Regions from separate parts of the Homo sapiens genome. Here region 1 is linked to region 2. Evidence: promoter capture Hi-C in 16 types of primary human blood cells and fetal thymus (Javierre and others, 2016). All regions are on one chromosome and are shown on one strand. Each heading gives the region's core, a stretch centred on a gene start or on the middle of the fragment in contact. The rest is flanking DNA. Distances are from core to core; before and after follow the strand shown. Region 1 holds the start of MAN1B1 (mannosidase alpha class 1B member 1). Region 2 holds the start of CCDC183 (coiled-coil domain containing 183).

The links. The method cuts DNA at HindIII sites, captures the fragments that hold promoters and counts their contacts. A CHiCAGO score of 5 or more calls a contact.
Region 1: the fragment with the promoter of MAN1B1 here is called in contact with the fragment with the promoter of CCDC183 in region 2 in 5 of 17 cell types (naive CD8 T cells, total CD8 T cells, activated CD4 T cells and 2 more); the score reaches 7.3 in naive CD8 T cells.

What each region holds. Positions count from the first base shown.
Region 1 is chr9:137,083,723-137,089,897 of GRCh38, forward strand. MAN1B1 (mannosidase alpha class 1B member 1) reads left to right here and starts at 3,263. Exons shown (of 13, transcript NM_016219.5): 1 at 3,263-3,496; 2 at 4,353-4,461; 3 at 5,147-5,283. The coding sequence starts at 3,278. MAN1B1-DT (MAN1B1 divergent transcript) reads right to left here and starts at 3,095. Exons shown (of 1, transcript NR_027447.1): 1 at 1,224-3,095. UAP1L1 (UDP-N-acetylglucosamine pyrophosphorylase 1 like 1) reads left to right here. Exons shown (of 9, transcript NM_207309.3): 9 at 1-816. RefSeq lists enhancers at 1-19, 3,187-3,416 and silencers at 1-31, 2,617-2,846, 3,397-3,626. The HindIII fragment of the contact is 12,458 bases long and covers 1-6,175 here.
Region 2 is chr9:136,792,971-136,799,410 of GRCh38, forward strand. It overlaps CCDC183 (coiled-coil domain containing 183), which reads left to right and starts at 3,368. Exons shown (of 14, transcript NM_001039374.5): 1 at 3,368-3,497; 2 at 6,132-6,253. The coding sequence starts at 3,428. It overlaps TMEM141 (transmembrane protein 141), which reads left to right. Exons shown (of 5, transcript NM_032928.4): 5 at 1-347. RefSeq lists an enhancer at 2,789-3,290 and a silencer at 4,007-4,301. The HindIII fragment of the contact is 12,043 bases long and covers 694-6,440 here.

The sequences.
Region 1 (6,175 bases), core at 2,013-4,512, 290 kb after region 2:
CCTGGTGATTCTCGCCTGCTTTCTCATCTCAGGGGAGGCAGTGGCACCTCCCTCTCCCTGCTGACATGAAGAGAGCTATGATATGCCACTGCTGCCAACTCATCCTCTGCCCCCACCTCGAAACCCACAGTCCCCAGTGGAGGGCCACTACTCATCCCCATTGGTTTCCCAGGGGAGGGGTGTTGTCTGGAAGGGCAGGTTCAGATGCAGCCTTCCAGATTTAGAGGCACTGGGAGGACAGTGGCTGAGTGGAGGCGCCCAGACCTGGGCAGGCAGCAGGCTCAGGCCCACACCTTGTGATTTTTGAAACCAAAGCCCAGAAGATGATGTTTACTTCTCTCTCCCTGGCTCTGCCCTTCTTACTGCAAACCATGCTGTGCCTTAGGGCCCTTCTCATAGCTGTTCCTCATGGCCATGACTGGAACAGGGATGCAACCTCTTTCTACACAAGCACAGTTAGTTGGGTGAAGTCTTTTTTTTTGTTTGTTTTAGACGGAGTTTCACTCTTGTTGCCCAGGCTGGAGTGAAGTGGCGTGACCTTGGCTCACTGCAACCTCCAGGCCAGCCTCAGCCTCCCTAGTAGCTGGGACTACAGGCACCCACTACCACGCCTGGCTAATTCTTTGTATTTTTAGTAGAGATGGGGTTTGACCGTGTTAGCCAGGATGGTCTCGATCTCCTGACCTCGTGATCCACCCACCTCGGCCTCCCAAAGTGCTGGGATTATAGGTGTGAGCCACCGCGCCGGGCCGGTTGCTGGCATCTTAATGTTCTGTAGGTGGAATATTTCCAATAAACACAAGGTGCCGTAATTGACTGCTACTCTGGCAAGTGCAGTTTTTGGGCAGTGCACGGGTGTTGGGAACAAGGATCAGGTGTTCACAGCTGTGTCCCAGGGCTGGAGCTCACTGGGGGCCCCCTTAGGGACAGGAGTTCACACATGAAGGCCAAGACTACTTGGGGTGCCAAGGAATCCCCCCGCGGTCCCATCCCACTCTTCACCAGGGTCTCAGGAGGGCCTGAGACAACCTGCGGTCAGGAACCTCGGGGCGCTCTCCAGGGCAGGCTTCTGCATGCTCAGCTCTGACAGCCTGGAGACTCGCTCTCCTGCACCTGCATCCTTGAGATGCCAAGGTTTCCCTGCTAACCACGTGAGGATGCTTGGGGTACTCCAGGGACTGACAAGAGTGAGTGGTGTCAACCTAAAGAGAAACTCAGGCTCTCCAGAATAAATGAATTTAATCAAGAATAACACATAATTGCAATGCAGAGTATGCAAGCCTCAGTGGGTCACAGGCATGTGGTGGGGGGGTGGGGTGGGGATTGAGGAAAGGGGGAATTTTTTTTTTTTGAGACTGGATCTCACTCTGTTGCCCAGGCTGGAGTGCAGTGGTGCAATCATGGCTCACTGCAGCCTCGACCTCCTGGGGCTTAGGTGGTCTTCCCACCTCAGCCTCCAGAGTAGCTGGGACCACAGGTGCACACCACCACACTGGACTCATTTTTTTATTTTTTGTAGAGACAGGGGTTTCACCATGTTGCCCAGGTTGGACTCCTGAGCTCAGGGGATCTGCCCACCTTGGCCTCCAAAAGTGCTGGGATTACTACAGGCATGAGTCACTGTGCCCCGCCCACGGGAAATTTCTTTTTTTTTTTTTTTTTTTTTTTTGAGACAGAGTCTTGCTCTGTTGCCCAGGCTGGAGTGCAGTGGTGCCATCTCGGCTCACTGCAACCTCCACCTCCTGGGTTCAAGGAATTCTCCTGCCTAAGCCTCCCGTGTAGCTGGGACTACAGGTGCCTGCCACCAACCATGCCCTGCTAATTTTTTTGTGTTTTTTGTAGAGACGGGTGTCTCACCATGTTGGCCAGGCTAGTCTTGAACTCCTGACCTCAAGTGATCCACCTGCCTCGGCCTCCCAAAGTCCTGGGATTACAGAAGCCACCGCGCCTGGCCCCAAGGGGAATCTTTTAAAAAAGAGAAGTTCCCATAAACTGCTTTGAAACCATAAAGACCAAAGGTTAGAAGGGTTTGCCGCAGGCGCTCCGTTGCTAATGTTTTTGTGAGGGCTTCTTCAGGGCCTCTTGTTAGAGTGTGACATAAACGACTTCATTTGGGTACCAGCAAGTGTCACAGGGGGCAGAGACCAGCAGAAACCTAAAGATGACCCCTAGAAGAGCAGGAGGCCAGGGGAACAGAGTTAGACGAGCCACGTGCTAAGCAGGACGTCGCTGCCGGGGGAGCTCTCCAGACACGCAGAAATGCCACAGTCAGGACCGTGGGACGCAGCGGATTCGCCCAAGGGCAGGAGCAGCCTGGCCAGGAGAGAATGAAGGAGGGGCCGGGCGTGAGGTTCGGCTGGGGAGAACCCAGGCAGGGAGGGCCTCGGGCGGCCACGGACGCCGCTTTGCCATTTTGGGCGTTTCTGGGGAGGACAACGCGTGCAGGAAGCGCAGTCATCTCAAGCTGACCTCCAAGGTTACCGAGTTCGAGGGCTGGGAGCCGGGTCTGAAAGCCCCGACCCGCCTATGGCGCGGGGACTGTGGGTCCAGCCGGCCGATTGGCCGCCTCGCTCGGCGCCGGTCCAGGCGCAGCGCTCGGGCCCCGGGGACCGTGAGATGCGGCGCAGCCAGCTTAGCTCGGGGTAGCAGCCACCCCAGCCCGGGTGCCGCCCGGCCTGGTCCGCGACTTCGGGAGGGTCCGGTCCTTCCCCCGGCCCCCACGCCTGGGTGAGGCCCTGGGCTTCTTGCCGGTGACCACGCGGCCAGGGTGGGCACCAGCCCAGGACGGCGCCCAAGGGCAGCCCAGCTCCATCCCCGCGCCGCGGGTTCCGGAACCGAGGCGCGGGACGCTGGGACTCTCTGCCAACATGGCGGCCCCGCCCGGGCGCCTCCCCGGGTCCCTAGTGTCTGCGTCTCCCGTGAGGGCGTGGGCAAAGTCGGTGCAGCCAGACGACAGGAGGCGAGAGAAGCCCAGCTCCAGGCCCATGAGGCGAACCACGTGGGAGCCCCAGACAGCGACCACGCCCCAGGCGAACCAAGGCCCGCCCCGTTGCTACAGCTACGCTCGTAGCACACCTGGGCAGGCGCTGCCGGACGCATGCGCAATGAACCTGAGGGCAGGGCGGAGTCGCAGCAGTTGTCTGACGCAGTCGCCGTAGGACGCAGCCCCGTACGCTGGAGCGCAGCGGAGACAGGCGCGGGCGCACTGGCCGCATAGAGACGCAGCGCACGCGCAGTCGCGTATCCGTGTGATGGGCGGGCTGTTGACGGCGCTGCGATGGCTGCCTGCGAGGGCAGGAGAAGCGGAGCTCTCGGTTCCTCTCAGTCGGACTTCCTGACGCCGCCAGTGGGCGGGGCCCCTTGGGCCGTCGCCACCACTGTAGTCATGTACCCACCGCCGCCGCCGCCGCCTCATCGGGACTTCATCTCGGTGACGCTGAGCTTTGGCGAGAACTATGACAACAGCAAGAGTTGGCGGCGGCGCTCGTGCTGGAGGGTGAGGGTCGCGCCGGGCTGACTGGGGCCCGGGGCTGCCGTGCCCGCCGCCCTCCCAGACTGCGGCTCCGAGCGGGACCTGGGCGGGCGGACTCGACTCCCCAGGCGCCGCCCTCTCCACCCCTTCCCCGCAAAAAGGGGCAAATGTGCGTTCCTGGTTGGGGCAGCCGTGGGCGGCTCGCCTGCAGCGGTCTCAGCGGCCCAAATTCTGCGGGGCGGTGGTGGGAAGAGGGCTCAGAGCCCCAGCAGGTTTTCTGGGCTTCGTTCGCTTTTCTGCAAGGTCCTGGCCCAGGCGCCTGCCCCTCTTGGAGCGGAAACCGGAGGTTCCCCGTGGTGTATGCTCCCCTCGGTACAGTGAGAAATGAGCCCCTCTTGATTGGCTCCTGGTCTGTTCGTGGTGGTCTCAGGCCGAAGGGCATTGATAACCACATGCGGACTGTGCATCGCCTGGGCGGTGCCTGGGCTACATCTGTGGGAGTCGCAGGAGTCTTTCTCCACTGTTGATGAAATGTGACAGAAATGTTTCTGCTTTTTTCTTATCCTCGTCTCATCTGCACCACTGTATTAACGACATCTGTAGTATTGTCCCAGCAATGTTCCTACTCCCTGCTGAGAGGGAACTTCTCCCCATTCAAAATAAATAGAGCTGGCCGGGCACGGTGGCTCATCCCGCGTTCCACCCACTACACTCCAGCCTAGGTGTAACAGAATGAGACCCTGTTTCCAAAAAAAAAAAGAAATAGAGCTGAACACTGGATCTTCCAGAAGAATTCCTTATTGTCCTCACAGTTTGTGACAGTTGAGACGTTCCGTGTGATATATTCAGTAAGAAATGTCATTCTCTGTACCTCCCTTAGAAATGGAAGCAACTGTCGAGATTGCAGCGGAATATGATTCTCTTCCTCCTTGCCTTTCTGCTTTTCTGTGGACTCCTCTTCTACATCAACTTGGCTGACCATTGGAAAGGTATCAGAAACACGTGTACTTGAAAACGATATCTGTGTTGAGGGTTGATTGGGCAGAAGCAATCTTGCATTCTACCTTAAACAGCTCCAGGAGGCATATATGGCAACGAATTGGCAAGAAATCAAGATAAAGAGAAAGGTAGAGCTGTATGTAACCACCTGGCTAGAACACAGATGTTAATTTGATGCTGTCTGACTACTTTCTAGGTCTCTGGTGTAAGTACTGATATGTCCAGCCTCCCTTATAGAGTAAGTCAGCTGGTGGGCTTGAACACTCAGCCTAAATAACCACACAAATTTCGTAGCACTCATTAGCGTGTGTTTGGAAAAGACCAGGCAGAGTTCTGGTGAGGATGTGGAGAATCTCTTCTCACTTGGTCTAAGATGCTTCTCTTTGGAGCAAAGCTAAAGGGCTCCTGCCCACCTGCCACATGCTGAACGTCCCTGAATGGAAAATAGGAAGGCAAAAGATGTGGGGTTCTGTGTTATGGACAAGGACACAAACTGCCAAGTGTTTTGAAAAAGATTTCATTCCCTTGGGACATTGTTGAATTCATTTCAGTGACTATCAGGTATCATAATGTTGATTTGTAATGGATAGTGCCTGCCAAGTGTTTTTATAAAGCAGTTTAAATCTCTTGTAGGCCTTGTGGCATATTTGAAATAAAATAGCTTCTGTTATTCAGCTCTGGCTTTCAGGCTAGAGGAAGAGCAGAAGATGAGGCCAGAAATTGCTGGGTTAAAACCAGCAAATCCACCCGTCTTACCAGCTCCTCAGAAGGCGGACACCGACCCTGAGAACTTACCTGAGATTTCGTCACAGGTACTTTGAGCAAATGGTGTGGGGTTATAACTGGGGTTCAATCCAGAGGCATTTCAAACCACTGAAGATTGAGAAGAATTATTTTCCTTTACCATTTATTACCACGTGTTTACCTCTCTCTCGTTTTGGACTGGTCGGATAATACTTGGGGAAAGAGAGGCGTAGTCTTTGCTTCATTCTTTTTGAAGACCAGCCATGGCCAGTTCCGGTTTTACTTCTGACTGTGCAGTGTTGAATAAGACAGACCTGTTTCCTCTCAAGAGGCCACAGCTGGTAGGAGAGGCTGGTGAGAAGCCAGGCACAGATGGGCAGAGGCAGATGGCACATGGTGTACATCCTATGTGGAAAAGAGCAGGGCGCTGGTGAAGAACAGTGGCTGGTCCTGAGGGTTCAGGGGAGGCCGTGGCACTGAGGGCAAGATCTGAGGGCTGAGAAGCTGCTGGCACCGGGCAAGGTGGGGAGAGGCAGACTTGAGCCTGAGTGAAACTGCCTGAGGCAAGGAGGACCTTGGCATATGCGGGAAGGTGAAATTCCCAGGGCTGGGAGAGGGAGCAGGGGTTGGCTCAGTCCAGCTGTGGTCCTGCAGGTCCTGGAGGCAGCATGGAGGGTCCAGTTGATGTATGCGGGAAGATTTTGGCGTGGACTGGAGGTCTGAGATGTTTACTGTGAAACTGCTCTGGCTGGGTGGAGACACAGTGGAGGGCAGGAGGCCAGGAGAGCTGCCTGGCCGTGGGAAAAGCTGAGTGGGGGGAGGAGTGCTCCGCAGGAGTGGGCCTTGGGAGAAGGAGGGTGAGTCCCCGGGTGGAGGGGCCAGCAAAGGCTGTGCAGGCTCTGGCTTGGGGACACTGAGGAGCTCCGTTTTGGATCTGCCCACTGTGAGATGTCTGGGAGG
Region 2 (6,440 bases), core at 2,118-4,617:
CCTGACAAACACCTGCAGATGGCTGCTGCCCCAACCTGGGACCTGCCCAGGAGGTTGGAGCAGAAAGGGCTCTCCCTGGGGTGGTGTTTCTCCTCTAGGGTATTGGGATGCATGTTCTGCACTGCCAGCAGAGAGGGTGTGTCTGGGGGCCACCACCTATGGGACACGGGGTCGAAGGGGCCTGTACACTCTGTCATTTCCTTTCTAGCCCCTGCATCTCCAACAAGTCCAAGGTGACAGCTGGTGCTAGGGGCGTGGGGTTAATAAATGGCTTATCCTTCTCTCCACCCAAGTTTCCACCTGACCAGGTGAAAAACAAATCAGAAGGGTAAGATGATGACAGGTCACATGAAACCTTTATTACCCTACAGTTGATATATGAGGATCACATGCAAGTTACATACTGAGGATGTACAGGGAAGTTCCCAGCGCTGAACCCCAGAATTAGACGTTCGCATCAGCCCCGTAGGCCACGTGACACCACCACAGCCTCTCTGTATGGGGGTCTGCCTCTGTAGCACTTGGCATGTAGGGGCAGAGCAAAAGGGGCCAGGCTGGCCAGAGCCTGGCTGCTGGGAGAGGAGGGACTTGTGGGCCACGCCCACCTGCCTATCATTCCCCACTCATCTATTAGCCAAAGTCACTCCCCAGAGGCAGAGCTAGCCCGTTGTAGCCGTGTCTGTGTGGAGGGAAAGCTTCTGAGTGGGCAAGCCTACACACAGCCCCGAGCCCCAAGAGGAGGAAGAGGTGGAGACCAGACGGAACCTCCACAAGTCCATCATGGTTACAGCTGGCTTCCCCGCAGCACCGAAGACCCACAGCATGGGCCCTGCTGCCCCCGACCCAGCTCAGCTGCCACGCCTCACCTTGCCAGGCACTGGAAAGAAAGTTTATTGAGTACCTACTGGGCCTTCAGAGTGACAGGAAGCTCAAGTTGACAGTGGCTTCAGCAAGATGGAGCTTTATTTTTCTGTTTTTTGTGGTGTTGTCGTCGTTGTTTGGAGACAGAGTCTCGCTCTGTCACCCAGGCTGGAGGGCAATGGCGTGATGTCGGCTCACTGCAACTTCCACCTCACCAGTTCAAGCCATTCTCCTGCCTCAGCCTCCCAAGTAGCTGGGATTATAGGCACCCACCACCACGCCTGGCTAATATTTATTTATTTATTTATTTTGAGATGGAGTTTCACTCTTGTTGCCCAGGCTGGAGTGCAGTGGTGCAGTCTCAGCTCGCCACAACCTCTGCTGCCCGGGTTCAAGCGATTCTCCTGCCTCAGCCTCCCGAGTAGCTGGGATTACAGGTATGCGCCACCATGCCCAGCTAATTCTGTATTTTTAGTAGAGACGGGGTTTCACTATGTTGGCCAGGCTGGTCTCAAACTCCTGACCTCATGTGATCTGCCCACCTCGGCCTCCCAAAGTGCTGGGATTATAGGCGTGAGCCGCTGGGCACCGCGCCGGGCTGAGCTTTATTTTTCTTTCATGTAAAAGTCCAAGTGAGTGGTCCAGGGTTGACAGGGAATCGGGGACCAGGCTCCTTTCAGTCTGCTCCCTGCTGTAATGGTCTCTGTTCCCAAATCTGCCTCATGGCCCCAGGCGGCTGCACCAGCTTCGGCCATTGTGTCTTTATCTCATTTAAGAGGCAGGAGAGAGGGCAGCTTGCCTGCCACTGCTGCTCTCACTCTGTTGGCCTGAACGAAGTCATCAGGCACATCCAGTGCCAGGATGCTCAGGAAGGCAGAGTTGCTCTGGGCAGCCATGCGCCCACTAAAATTCAGGTGTTTTATATCTGAGGAAGAAGGACAGCAGGTAGGCTCTGCCTCAGCTAGATTCCAAGCCTGGCCCCCAAGAACGAGGGGGAGGTAAGCAGACCACACCCTTAGCAGGACATCCCAGCACCCTGAGGGTGAGGCCTGGGTGGGAGGGAGAGAAGGGAGAACCTGGAGTTTGCCTGGACTGGCTTTCCAAAAACAGTGACCAGAAAGGGAAGGGATCTATGTGACAGCACATGGGCAAAGGCCATTGTCGGGCTGGCTTGGGTCCCCCCAAATTTCTGTCCCCCAGGACCTCTGCATGTCTCTGTATTTGAAGACAGGGGCTTTCCAGAGGTCATTAAGGTAAAATGAGGTCATTGGGGTGTCCTCATAAGAAGAGGAAATTAGGACACAGACACACAGAGGGACGGCCACGTGAGGACACAGAGAAGACAGCATCTGCAAGCCAAGGAGAGGGGCCTCAGGAGACACCAGCCCTGCTGACCCGTGATCTCAGCCCCCAGCCTCCAGGCTGCTGTTCACATCCCCCAGTCGGTGGCGCCTTGTTTTTTTGTTTTTTTGTTTTTTGTTTTTTTGAGATGGAGTCTTACTCTGTCACGCAGGCTGGAGTGCAGTGACGCGATCTCAGCTCACTGCAACCTCCACCTCCTGGATTCAAGCAATTCTCCTGCCTCGGCTTCCCAAGTAGCTGGGACAGGCGCCCACCACCACACTGGGCTAATTTTTGTATTTTTAGTAGAAACGGGGTTTCACCATGTTGACCAGACTGGTCTTGAACTCCTGACCTCAGGTGACCCACCCACCTCAGCCTCCCAAAGTGCTGGGATTACAGGCGTGAGCCTCCACACCTGGCCAGTGGCACCTTGTTATGGCCGCCTGAGCCTACTAAGGCAAGGCTGGGAAAAAGTACCCCATCTCGTGTGTACCCCATCTCGTGCATACCCCACAGAGTTCCAGGCTGCCTGGTGCTCCAGGTACTCCCCTCTAAGGGAAGGGTGGAGGGGGTGCAGAGATGGAGAACATACCCTTTCTGGAGTGACACATGAACCCAAGACCCAGTAATTCCCAAAGGAAAGTGGGGGTGAAGCAGGGTGGGCTCCAGACAGCACAGAGAGGTCAGGGACAGAAGTCAGAAGAGATAAGGTGGGGGTGTCCCAAGAGCCAGGTTACCCAGTGCATGGAGTTTGGACTTGGGGCTGGGGGTGGGGGGTGCAGAGGGAGGTCCCGTAAGGCAGTATCAGAATAGTATCAGAATCGTTTTAGGAGGCTCGGCCTGCTGCTTTGTGGAGGATGGCTTGGGGCATGGGAGGGGCCAGGGAGGGAACCCAGTGCAGGTGTGAGCTGCCGGTGCTGCAGACCCATCACAAACCTCCCCCTCAAAGAAAGCACATCCGCCCGGCAGAGCTCCTAAGCCTCGAGCAGCTGCCAGGAGACTCATTTCAATTAGGACACATGTCTGGAGGCCACCCCAAGGTGGCTGGGGGCAGAGTGAGGCAGGAGGCCCTGCAATTCCAGGGTTGCCCAGGCACTGAGAATCCTGGCTCTCATCATAATGGGCTGAGGTTCTGGGGACAATCTGAGTGGCGGCTCTGAGCAAGCTGAGCCCAGGGAGGCTTTGAGGTACACAGGGTCCCTTGGGGGGCCTGAGAGCAGCCATGAGGAGGCACAGTGAGACAGATGTGGAAGAGCAGACCCAGGAGCTGAAGACCATCACTCAGCTCCAGGGTGAGCCTGCACCGCCGTGACCAGTCTCCCTTTCCCGTCTGGGGGTTTCTGGGTGCACAACTTTTTGTGGGGAAAAGAGAGATCAGATTGTTACTGTCTATGTAGAAAAGGAAGACATAAGAAACTCCATTTTGATCTGTACTAAGAAAAATTGTTTCTGCTTTGAGATGCTATTAACCTGTAACTTTAGCCCCAACTCTGTGCTCACAGAAACATGTGCTGTATTGAATCAAAGATTAATGCATTTAGGGCCGTGCAGGATGTGCTTTGTTAACAATGTGTTTGCAGGCAGTATGCTTGGTAAAAGTCATCCCCATCCTCCATTCTTGATTAACCAGGGACACAGTGCACTGCAGAAAGCCGCAGGGACCTCTGCCCAGGAAAGCCTGGGAATTGTCCAAGGTTTCCCCCCACTGAGACAGCCTGAGATATGGCCTCGTGGGAAAGGAAAGATCTTACCATCCCCCAGCCCGACACCAGTAAAGGGTCTGTGCTGAGGAGTAGTGAAAGAGGGAGGCCTCTTTGCAGTTGAGATAAGAGGAAGGCATCTGTCTCCTGCTCGTCCCTGGGAATGGAATGTCTCAGTGTAAAGCCGACCATTCCCATTCGTTCTATTCTAAGATAGGAGAAAACCGCTCTGTGGCTAGAGGCAAGATATGCTGGCAGCAATACTGCTCTGTTACTCTTTGCTACACTGAGATGTTTGTGTAACGTGAAACAAATCTGGCCTACGTGCACATCTGGGCATAGTACCTTTCCTTGAACTTATTCATGATAAAGATTCCTTTGCTCACATGTTTCCCTGCTGACGTTCTCACCACCTGTTGCCCTGCTACACTCCCCTCACCAAGATAGTAAAAATAATGATCAGTAAATACTGAGGGAACTCAGAGACCAGGGCTGGTGCAGGTCCTCGCATGCTGAGTGTGCCAGTCCCCTGGGCCCACTGTTCTTTCTCTATACTTTGTGTCTTTTTTTTTTTTTTTTATGAGATGGAGTCTTGCTCTGTTGCCCAGACGGCAGTGCAGTGGCGCGATCTCGGCTCACTGCAAGCTCCACCTCCTGGGTTCACGTCATTCTCCTGCCTCAGCCTCCCAAGTAGCTGGGACTACAGGCACCCACCACCATGCCCGGCTAATTTTTTGTATTTTTAGTAGAGATGCGGTTTCACCGTGTTAGCCAGGATGGTCTCGATCACCTGACCTCGTGATCTGCCCGCATCAGCCTCCCAAAGTGCTGGGATTACAGGCGTGAGCCACCATGCCCAGCCTCTGTGTCTTATTTCTTTTCTCAGTCTTCATCCCACCTGACGAGAAATACCCGCAGGTGTGGAGGGGCAGGCCCCCTTCACTTTTAGGGGATGTTTGTTTGGAGACAGAGTCTCGCTCTGTCACGCAGGCTCGAGTGCAGTGGCATGATCTCGGCTCACTGCAACCTCCACCTCCCGGGTTCGAGCGATTCTCCTGGCTCAGCCTCTTGATTAGTTGGGACATCAGGTGTACGCCACCACACTCAGCTAATTTTCGTATTTGTATTTTTATTTATTTATTTATTTTGAGACGCAGTCTCGCTCTGTCACCCAGGCTGGAGTGCAATGGTGCAATCTCAGCACACTGCAACCTCCACCTCCCGGGTTCAAGTGATTCTCCTGCCTCAGCCTCCCGAGTAGCTGGGATTACAGGTGCCCACCACCACGCCCAGCTAATTTTTGTATTTTTAGTAGAGACGGGGTTTACCCATCTTGGCCAGGCTGGTCTCAAACTCCTGACCTCAGGTGATCCATCCGCCTCGGCCTCCCAAAGTGCTGGGATTACAGGCATGAGCCACCGGCGCCTAGCTTATTTATTTTTTTGAGACAGAGTCTCATTCTGTCGTCCAGGTGGAGTGCAGTGGTGCAATCTCAGCTCACTGCAACCTCCACCTCCTGGGTTCAAACAATTCTGCCTCAGCCTCCTGAGTAGCTGGGACTACAGGCACACACCACCACACCCAGCTAGTTTTGTATTTTTAGTAGAGATGGGGTTTCACCATGTTGGCCAGGCTGGTCTCGAACTCCTGACCACAGGTGATCCGCCCACTTCGGCCTCCCAAAGTGCTGGGATTACAGGTGTGAGCCACCGCTCCTGGCCTAGGACTTTTAGTTTTAATACAGGGACAATCCAGGACATGGAGGGGAAAACAGACCCCCCTACTGCCCACTCCCTGACAGAGCTGGGAGAAGGGATCAAAGGGACCTGCATGGAGGGACTAAATCAGAGAGAGGGGCTTCAAGGAGACGTGAGCATAAGAGCAACACGGGCCCCAAAGCCAGAATGGACAGGAAAACACCCACCTGCTTCCATGGGCAGCAAATCTGGACGGGACCACAGGACCCTGCCATCCCTCTCCTTTGCCTCACCCTCCCCACCTGTCCACCTCCCCGCACCTGTCCACTGAGAGCCCTTCAGACAGCTGCTGCTGGGCAGTGGAGCGGTGTCCCCCAGGACAGGGCGGGAGGAGGGATCTTGGCCATGGAGGGGGCATCCCCCTGGACCCTGGGGCCTGGGGCCTCCCTGATGCAAGCCTCCCCCAGGGGATTCCAGGCCAGGCCCTTGGCCCAATCCTAGCCACTGTGTCCCCTCCACCTGCCCACAGAGCAGTGTCGGGCACTCCAGATCCAAGGGGTGAAAGAGAATATGGACCAGAACAAGGCCACGCTGGCCCTCCTGCGCAGCAACATCCGCCGCGGGGCCCAGGACTGGGCTTTGGCCAAGAAGGTACACAAACGCCGCCCCTCCCCTCTGCCTGGCGAGCAGGGCAGGAGCTGAGTACACACACACTCGGAGGGCGGGCACCTCCTCTCCACCCCCACCCCAATCTTTCTGGATCCAGGGGGCATGTGAGGAGGGGCTCTGCTAGGACCTGTGCCCTGGGCTCCAGTCACCCCAGCATCCGGTGGGCAGG